Regions from separate parts of the Homo sapiens genome. Here regions 2 and 3 are each linked to region 1. The links are contacts of gene promoters, found by promoter capture Hi-C in human tissues and cell types (Jung and others, 2019). All regions are on one chromosome and are shown on one strand. Each heading gives the region's core, a stretch centred on a gene start or on the middle of the fragment in contact. The rest is flanking DNA. Distances are from core to core; before and after follow the strand shown.

Region 1 (2,700 bases), core at 189-2,688:
GACCTGTGCCCAGGGGACGGACACATAGACACTGCCTGCGCGTGGGCCTCCTCCCTTCTCCCTCCCGTCAGAGCTGCCAGCTCCACTCACCAGGTATCCTGGCCGCATTGAGGATGGCTGAGGGCAAGAGAAGGAAACGGTTAGGCCGGTGAGGGGCCCCAGGACACAGTGGTGAGGGGCCCTCAACGCCCAGTGAGGAAGGCCCCCAACACCCAGTAAGAAGGGATCCCAGTGCCCAGTGAGGTGGAGGTCCCAGCACCCAGTGAGGAGGGTCCCTCAGCGCCCAGTGAGGAGGGGTCCCAGCACCCCCTGAGGAGGGTCCCTCAGCGCCCAGTGAGGAGGGGTCCCAGTACCCAGTGAGGAGGGTCCCTCAGCGCCCAGCGAGAAGCCCCCAGCACCCAGTGAGAAGGGGTCCAGTGCCCAGTGGGAAGGGGTCCCAGCACCCAGTGAGGAGGGGTCCCCAGCGCCCAGTGAGGAGGGCTCCCCAGCGCCTAGTGAGGAGGGTTCCCCAGCGCCCAGTGAGGAGGGGTCCCCAGCGCCCAGTGAGGAGGGCTCCCCAGCGCCCAGTGAGGAGGGGTCCCCAGCGCCCAGTGACGAGGGGGTCCCAGCGCTCAGTGAGGAGGGGGTCCCAGCGCCCAGTGAGGAGGGGTCCCAGCGCCCAGTGAGCAGGCGTCCCAGCGCCCAGTGAGGAGGGGGTCCCCTTGAGTACCTGGTGGTGAGGAACCTCTAGCCCTCCAGTGCCCAGGGAGACTCTCAAGTCTCTCAACCCCAGGGCCCCTACCGGCGGGGCATTTCCTGGGGCCTGGCCAGGCCCTGGCTGCACAGCTGTGACCCTGCCCTCCCGCAGCTTCCCGTCCAGCCTGCCTTCCGGGGACCAGGACCGGCTCCTCGAGGGAGGCACAGACCTGAGCCCCTCGGCTCTGGACGCTGCTGCCGCTGGTGTGCCCTCCCCTGACCTCCTGCGGCAGGAACAACACAAAACGGTGCTTCCCCAGAGGCAAGCAGCGGAGGACGAGGAGATGGGAGAACACGGAGGCGAGAGGGAGCAGGCGATGGCGACGCCGACGGTAACTGGAGACCGAGGCGCGCTGCGTACTTGCTGCGTTTTCTGTTTCATCCTCACAGCCGTAGAAGAAACCGAGGCACAGAGCAGTTAAGGAGCAAGAGATAAACAGAGCAGAAGCGGAAAGGAGATGAGAGAGGCAAGGCCAGGAGGGAGAGAGGGAGGGAGGGAAGGAGGGAAGGAGGGTGGAGGTGAGAGGGAGGAGGGAGGAGCAGCCTCCGGACGTACCTGTCGACGCCAGCAGCAGCAGGGAGGTGAAGGTGCCGAGACAGCCCCCACCCAGGGCTGGGGGCGCTCCAGAAACCACCATGGCTGGTGGGGCGGGGGAGCAGGCAGCAGGCTCGAGAGACCCAGGGCGATGCGGGTCAGGGTGTGTAGGTTCCCTGCAGGTCGCCCCAGGTTTTATCCTGGGAGGCGGAATGCCGTCAGACCAGTCCCCAGGTGGCTCCCGCGGCCACCCCGGCTGTGGGTCCTGGGCAGAGGGCGGGGCTGCGGGGAGGAAGCCAGCCGCTACAGGGCTCTGGGGGGGCTCTAGCTGAGACCCCAGGATGTGGCCTCTGGAAGGGCAGGGGAGGGGGCTTGGGCCCAGAGGTCCCTGACATTAATTGTCCAGGGGCAGAGAAAGGTGCCAGGGCACTGAAAGGAAGGGGTTCCGGGCTGGGGAGGGCCTGGGTTTGGAGAGGCTGAAGTCTGGGGTACTGGGTGTTGGGGGTGGTCCTAGGGCCTTAGGGATCAAGGGGGTGCCCAAAGCTCAGTAACGGCTCCCACCTGCAGGGCCCCAGGCCCCTGTGACTCAGCCCAGAGACCTGGCGCAACCCGGGCTTGGGAATCCCGTTAACCCACTTCCCGAAAGCTGTGAATCAGGTGAGTGGCGACCTTGGTGGCCTCCTGGTGGCCGCCCTCCTGTCGTTCCTGGAGGCGGGGCTCTGCCCTGCGGTTCAGACACCTGACAACTCACCTCACCTGGACTCCTGGGAAGGGGAGGAGCCCATGGGCACCAGGGCTCGGCCAAGCAGGGGGGTTGAGAGAAGAGGGGCCCCGGGAAGGGCTGGGACTCCCAGGATTCAAAGAGCTGCTGGGCTGGGCTGTGGGGGGCCGGGTCCTGGGCTGGGAGTGGATTCTCGGTGCTTCCCCCCAGCGGCTGCCACAGTGGCAACCCGGGGCTGAATCCTGTGAGACCTTCCCTGACTCAGTGCCCTGCAGCGCCCCACACTTGGGACACTCCCACCCAAGCAGGGCAGGCTTCCTCCTCTACAAAGAGGCAGGAGCCTGCGCCCCTTCACTCATTCGATCAACAAGCCTCCAGCAGGGCCCTTGCTACCGCCGGGGGTGAATTAAAAACAACCATAGTGTCTGGGTGGGGTGGCTTATTCCTGTAATCCCAGCACTTTGGGAGGCCAAGACGGACAGATCATGAGGTCAGGAGTTCAATACCAGTCTGGCCAACATAGTAAAACCCCGTCTCTACTAAAAATACAAAAAAAAAAAAATTAGCCAGGCATGGTGGCAGGCGCCCTTAGTCCCATCTACTTGGGAGGCTGAGGCAGGAGAATCGCTTGAACCTGGGAGGCGGAGGTTGCAGTGAGCTGAGATCACGCCACTGCACTCCAGCCTGGGCGACAGAGCGAGACTCTGTT
Region 2 (2,700 bases), core at 147-2,646, 83 kb after region 1:
TTTTCCACAGAAAAGATTCAAGTTCAGCTGTGCTTCAAGACGTGTTCTCCTGAAAGCCAGCAGATTTATGGGTAATTGTATTTGTTATCTAATGGTGCATGACCAATTACAACAAAACGTAGTGGGCTTAAAACAACAAATATTTGCTGTCTCAGCTTTTGTGGGTCAACATTATGGGAGTGGTTGGGCTGGGTGGTTCTGACTCCTGAGGTTGAAGAGAATTTGTCAGCCAGGGTGGCAGTCATCTGAAGGCCCAAGTGAGGCTGGAGGCCCTGCTCCTCACCATAGGGACCCCTCCTTGGGCCCACTTGAGCATCCTTCACATGACAGCCATGGGACAGAGAGAGAACAAGAGGGAAGCTGCCAGCAGCAGAATTCAGGTTCTTCTCAACCACAGCCAGGCCATAAAGCAAGAGTCCATTATTTTATTTTTTGAGATGGAGTCTGTGTGTGGCCCAGGCTGGAGTACAGCGGCATGATCTCAGCTCACTGCAAACTCTACCTTCCGGGTTCAAGCAATTCTCCTGTCTCAGCCCCCTGAGTAGCTGGGATTACAGGCATGTACCACCACACCGAGCTGATTTTTGTATTTGCAGTAGAGATAGGGTTTTATCATGGTGGCCAGGCTGAGTCTCAAACTTCTGACCTCAAATGATCCTCCTGTCTCGGGTCTCCCGAGTGCTGGGATTACAGGCAAGAGCCACTGTGCCCAGCCTTGTTATTGGTTTGTAATTACATCCCACTATGGTCAAAGAACATACTTTGTATCATTTCAGTCCTTTCACGGCTGGATACAGTGGCTCATACCTGTAATTCCAGCACTTTGGGAGGCCAAGGCAGGCAGATCATTTGTAATTCCAGCACTTTGGGAGGCCAAGGCAGGCAGATCATTTGAGGTCAGGAGTTCGAGACCAGCCTGGCCAACATGGTGAAACCCCATCTCTACTAAAAATACAAAAATTAGTCAGGCATGGTGGTACATGCATGTAATCCAAGCTATTCGGGAGGCAGAGGTTGCAGTGAGCCAAGATTGTGCCACTGCACTCCAGCCTAGGTGACAAACAAAAACCAAATCAAAAACAGAGAAATTTGGGAAACTCAGAAATACGTAGAAATTAAAGAACACACTTATAAGAAACCAGTGAGTCAGACTGGGCATGGTGGCTCACGCCTGTAATCTCAACACTCTGGGAGGCAGAGGCAGGAGGATCACTTGAGCCCAGGAGTTTGAAACCAGTTGGGGCAACAGAGCATGACCCTGTGTGTAATTTAAAACAAACAAAACAATGAGCCAAAGAAGATAATTATAAAATACTTTGAAATAAAACTTATGGGATGCACTGAAAGCCGTGCTTAGAGGGAAATCTATAGCTAAAAACACTTCTATTAAAAAGGAAGAAGCCTGGGCAACATGGTGAGACCTCGTCTCTGCCAAAAACTCAGCCAGTCATGGTAGCATGTGCTGGTAGTATCGCTTGAACCTGGGAGATTGAGGCTGCAGTGAAGCATGATTGTACCACTGCACTCCAGCCTGGGAGACAGAGCAAGATCCCATCTCTAAATGAATAAACAGGGCCAAGCATGGTGGCTCACACCTGTAATCCTAGCATTTTGGGTGGCTAGGGTGGGAGGATCGCTTGAGCCCAGGAGTTCCATACTAGCATGGGCAAGACCTCATCTCCACAAAAAATAGAAAAACTAAAAAAAAAAGAACTAAAAGTCTGGGCGTGGTGGCTCACACCTGTAATCCCAGCACACTGGGAGACCGAGGGAGGTAGATCACGAGACCACGGGTTCAAGACCAGCCTGACCAACATGGTGAAACCCCATCTCTACTAAAGATAGAAAAATTAGCCAGGCGTGGTGGTGGGAGCCTGTAGCAGGAGAATTGCTTGAACCCAGGAGGTGGAGGTTGCAGTGAGTCGAGATTGCGCCACTGCACTCCAGCCTGGGCGACAGAGCAAGACTCATCTCAAAAAAAAAAAAAAAAAAAAAAAAAAAACTGAAGCAGAAGGAAGGAAATAAATAATAAATGAAACCAAAAGTTGGTTCTGTATAAGGATCAATAAAATTGACAAATATTTAGCTCTATCTACAGATCAAAAAAATTGAAAAGCAAGAATACTGAAAATACTAAAATCAGGAATAAAGATGAGACCTTACTATGGACCTCATTCTGGCAGAGTCTCATTCTGACACCCAGGCTGGAGTGCAGTGGTGCCATCTCAGCTCACTTGAACCTCACCCTCCTGAGTAGCTGGGACTACATGCACGCACCACCACGCCTGGCTAATTTTTCTATTTTTAGTAGAAACGGGGTTTTCCCATGTTGTCCAGGCTGGTCTCCAACTCCTGGGCTCAATCAGTCCACCTGCCTTGGCCTCCCAAAGTGCTGGCATTACAAGCATGAGCCGCAATGCTTGGCCCCAGCTCATTCTCTAAGACCAGTATCACCCTGATATCAAAACCAAGCAAAGGAATCACAAAGAGAAAACTACAGACCAGTATTTCTTAGGAACGTAGAATACCAGCAAACAGAATCCAGCAACATAAAAAAGGATTATATACCATGACCAAGTAAGATTTATCCCAGGAATGCATCAACATGCAAAACCAATTAATGTAACACAGCAGGCCTGAGACTGCTGCCCTAAGAACAGCCTGTGTGCAAGGTTCACCCTTGGCTGGCATCTGGGAACT
Region 3 (2,700 bases), core at 89-2,588, 97 kb before region 1:
CGCAGTCGGTAAGGGGTAGTCCAGGAGGAAGGGAGGGAGAGGGAATGATGGGTTAATTAATTTAATATTTATTGAGCGCCCACGGTGTGCTAGGCGCTGCACAGACCATTCGGAAGACACGGTCCCTGCCCTCTAGGAGCTGACAGGCTAAAGCAACAGGATGGACAGACATATACATTTCCCCTTCTCTTTTTTTTTTTGTTTTTGTTTATTTGTTATTTTTGTTTCGTTCTGATGTATATGGACTGCCAGAATAGGGGGGGTGGTGGTTTGTTCGTGGTGTCTGGGGGAGGAAGGAATCCTTACCCTGGCTTCCTTAATCGGGGAAGGCTTCCTGAAGGAGGTGGGCTCAGAGGTGAGTTGTGAATGAAGCGGGTAGGGAGTGGGCTGGGTGGATGGTTTGGGGATGTTTGGGGGAGGTGAGTAAAGGGGTAGAGGGAGAACGCTCTTTGGGATTGTGTTGGGAAAAGAAGAACCAAAGTGGACTGTACTTGCATTTCAGTGAATGATTTGAGTTGTGCGACTAAAGGCTTTTTGGAAGAGGGTTGTCCAGTTAGGAAAGGTGGATGGGAGTTGGGGAGGGGGTTTTCTGTTCTCCCTTTGAGCTGATTTCCTTCCTCTCCCACGTCCTCAATTAACTCCTGCAGGTCTCGAAGTGCTGCAGCTAAAACTCATACAACTGCCTTGGCTGGGCGAAGTCCTTCCCCTGCTTCAGGGCGACGCGGGGAGGGAGATGCGCCTTTCAGTGAACCAGGTACTACCAGCACACAACGGCCTAGTAGCCCGGAGACTGCTACGAAACAGCCTAGCAGCCCTTATGAAGACAAAGATAAAGACAAGAAGGAGGTATGTTCCTGAGTTGGTGATGTTCATTGGATTGCAAATGTATAGATTTAGGATAGACATGTGATGTGAAAGGGAGAGGTAATAACTTATTAAAATAAATAAATTCAGTTTTTTTTCCTGCATTTCTCTCCTAGTTCTCTTACTGCATCTGCAGAACTTTTAGTGTTGTTACTAGACTGAATTGTGAACCCTTTAGAATCAAATCTCACTGGATGTTAGGTTTTATATTGTGTCTTGTTTATACATAGATAGAACTGGAACAAACGTTGTATCTTATCTGTGTACTCCGTATGATGCCTCTAGTTTCTTCTCTTTTTTCATTAAATGCTGGTCATGTCTCACCAAAACTTTTTAATCCATTGCGTTGCCACCAATAGTTTGAATGAAACACTGAAATAGTCTTCAGTAGTCTTCTGTTCCAATTTTAAGCATTAATCATTTCCTCTTGCTTTAGTGATTACAGTCTGAATTCTTGGCCTCTATCATCAATTTTCCATGTCATCCAGGGTTACCTTTCCAAATTACAAGTTGGTTGACCTCAGAAACTTAACTACTTCCTTATTGCTTTTGAATTATATTTAAGGCTTTTAATAGTCTGGTCTTTTTCTCATTTCCTGTACTCTACCCATCCTGGGCTGCTTTTTTACTCTTCACACAAATCATGTTCTCACATCTTTATTCATGCTGTTTCTTTTCGTTTAATAGAGTTATTCTTCAAAGGTGAAGTTGCCATTCGCTTTAGGAAACTGCTTATTTTTCCATTTAAAGATAGTTTTTTTCCATTCTTATAACATTTTGTAGTGGTATTTGTTAAATGTAGTAGTGCATTAGTTATTTGCATTTTGTGTTTCTTTTAGTTTTAAGATTCTGGCTATCCATATATTCATATGTTTTCACCACTGTGCTTTATATGATTCCTTGTTATTGAATGAAAGTGATCGCTTGTGGTCAGAGGGTGTGTAAAAGAAAAGTTATCATTGGAAAGGGTGTTGGGATCTTAGGGGTGATGTGAAGTTTTGGCGTTTATGAATCCCTATCCCTGCTCTCTCTTCCACTCTTAGAAATCTGCAACTCGACCTAGCCCCTCTCCGGAAAGGAGCAGCACAGGCCCAGAACCACCTGCTCCCACTCCGCTCCTTGCTGAGCGACATGGCGGCTCCCCACAACCCCTTGCAACCACCCCCTTAAGCCAGGAGCCAGTGAACCCCCCATCTGAGGCCTCTCCAACTCGGGACCGTTCACCACCTAAGTCTCCCGAGAAACTTCCCCAGTCTTCTTCCTCAGAGAGCAGCCCACCATCCCCTCAACCTACCAAAGTTTCTCGGCATGCCAGCTCTTCCCCAGAAAGTCCTAAACCTGCTCCAGCTCCAGGGTCCCACCGAGAGATTTCTTCTTCTCCCACATCTAAGAATCGCTCACATGGCCGAGCAAAACGGGATAAATCACATTCTCATACCCCCTCCCGTAGGATGGGGAGGTCCCGTAGCCCTGCCACCGCTAAGAGAGGGCGATCTCGGTCTCGAACCCCTACCAAGAGAGGTCATTCTCGATCCCGATCTCCCCAGTGGCGTAGGTCCAGGTCTGCACAGAGGTGGGGAAGATCTAGAAGCCCCCAGCGACGTGGCCGCTCTAGGTCTCCTCAGCGACCAGGCTGGTCTAGGAGCAGAAATACCCAGAGAAGAGGCAGGTCTAGGTCAGCAAGGCGAGGGAGGTCCCACTCTAGATCCCCAGCCACTAGGGGTAGATCTCGTTCTAGAACACCAGCCCGCCGGGGCAGGTCCCGCTCTAGAACACCTGCCAGGCGGAGATCACGATCCAGAACTCCCACCAGGCGTAGGTCTCGGTCTAGAACAC

What was found. Contacts are between HindIII fragments. The study calls those that stand out against the background at their distance.
Region 2: a fragment that was not itself captured here is called in contact with the fragment with the promoter of PRSS22 in region 1 in 2 of the 25 tissues and cell types used here (small bowel and spleen).
Region 3: a fragment that was not itself captured here is called in contact with the fragment with the promoter of PRSS22 in region 1 in 3 of the 25 tissues and cell types used here (dorsolateral prefrontal cortex, lymphoblastoid cells and mesenchymal stem cells).

What each region holds. Positions count from the first base shown.
Region 1 is chr16:2,856,732-2,859,431 of GRCh38, forward strand. PRSS22 (serine protease 22) reads right to left here and starts at 1,439. Exons shown (of 6, transcript NM_022119.4): 1 at 1,292-1,439; 2 at 91-117. The coding sequence starts at 1,373. RefSeq lists enhancers at 824-1,424, 1,425-2,025, 2,026-2,625. The HindIII fragment of the contact is 21,792 bases long and covers 1-2,700 here.
Region 2 is chr16:2,940,022-2,942,721 of GRCh38, forward strand. It overlaps FLYWCH1 (FLYWCH-type zinc finger 1), which reads left to right. Exons shown (of 10, transcript NM_001308068.2): 9 at 11-71. The region is part of intron 3 of FLYWCH1-AS1 (FLYWCH1 antisense RNA 1); the gene reads right to left. Among named protein-coding and RNA genes, the nearest start is that of FLYWCH1-AS1, 15 kb to the right of the region's middle. The HindIII fragment of the contact is 8,887 bases long and covers 1-2,700 here.
Region 3 is chr16:2,759,654-2,762,353 of GRCh38, forward strand. SRRM2 (serine/arginine repetitive matrix 2) reads left to right here. Exons shown (of 15, transcript NM_016333.4): 9 at 1-8; 10 at 648-846; 11 at 1,908-2,700. Among named protein-coding and RNA genes, the nearest start is that of SRRM2, 8.4 kb to the left of the region's middle. The HindIII fragment of the contact is 5,652 bases long and covers 1-2,700 here.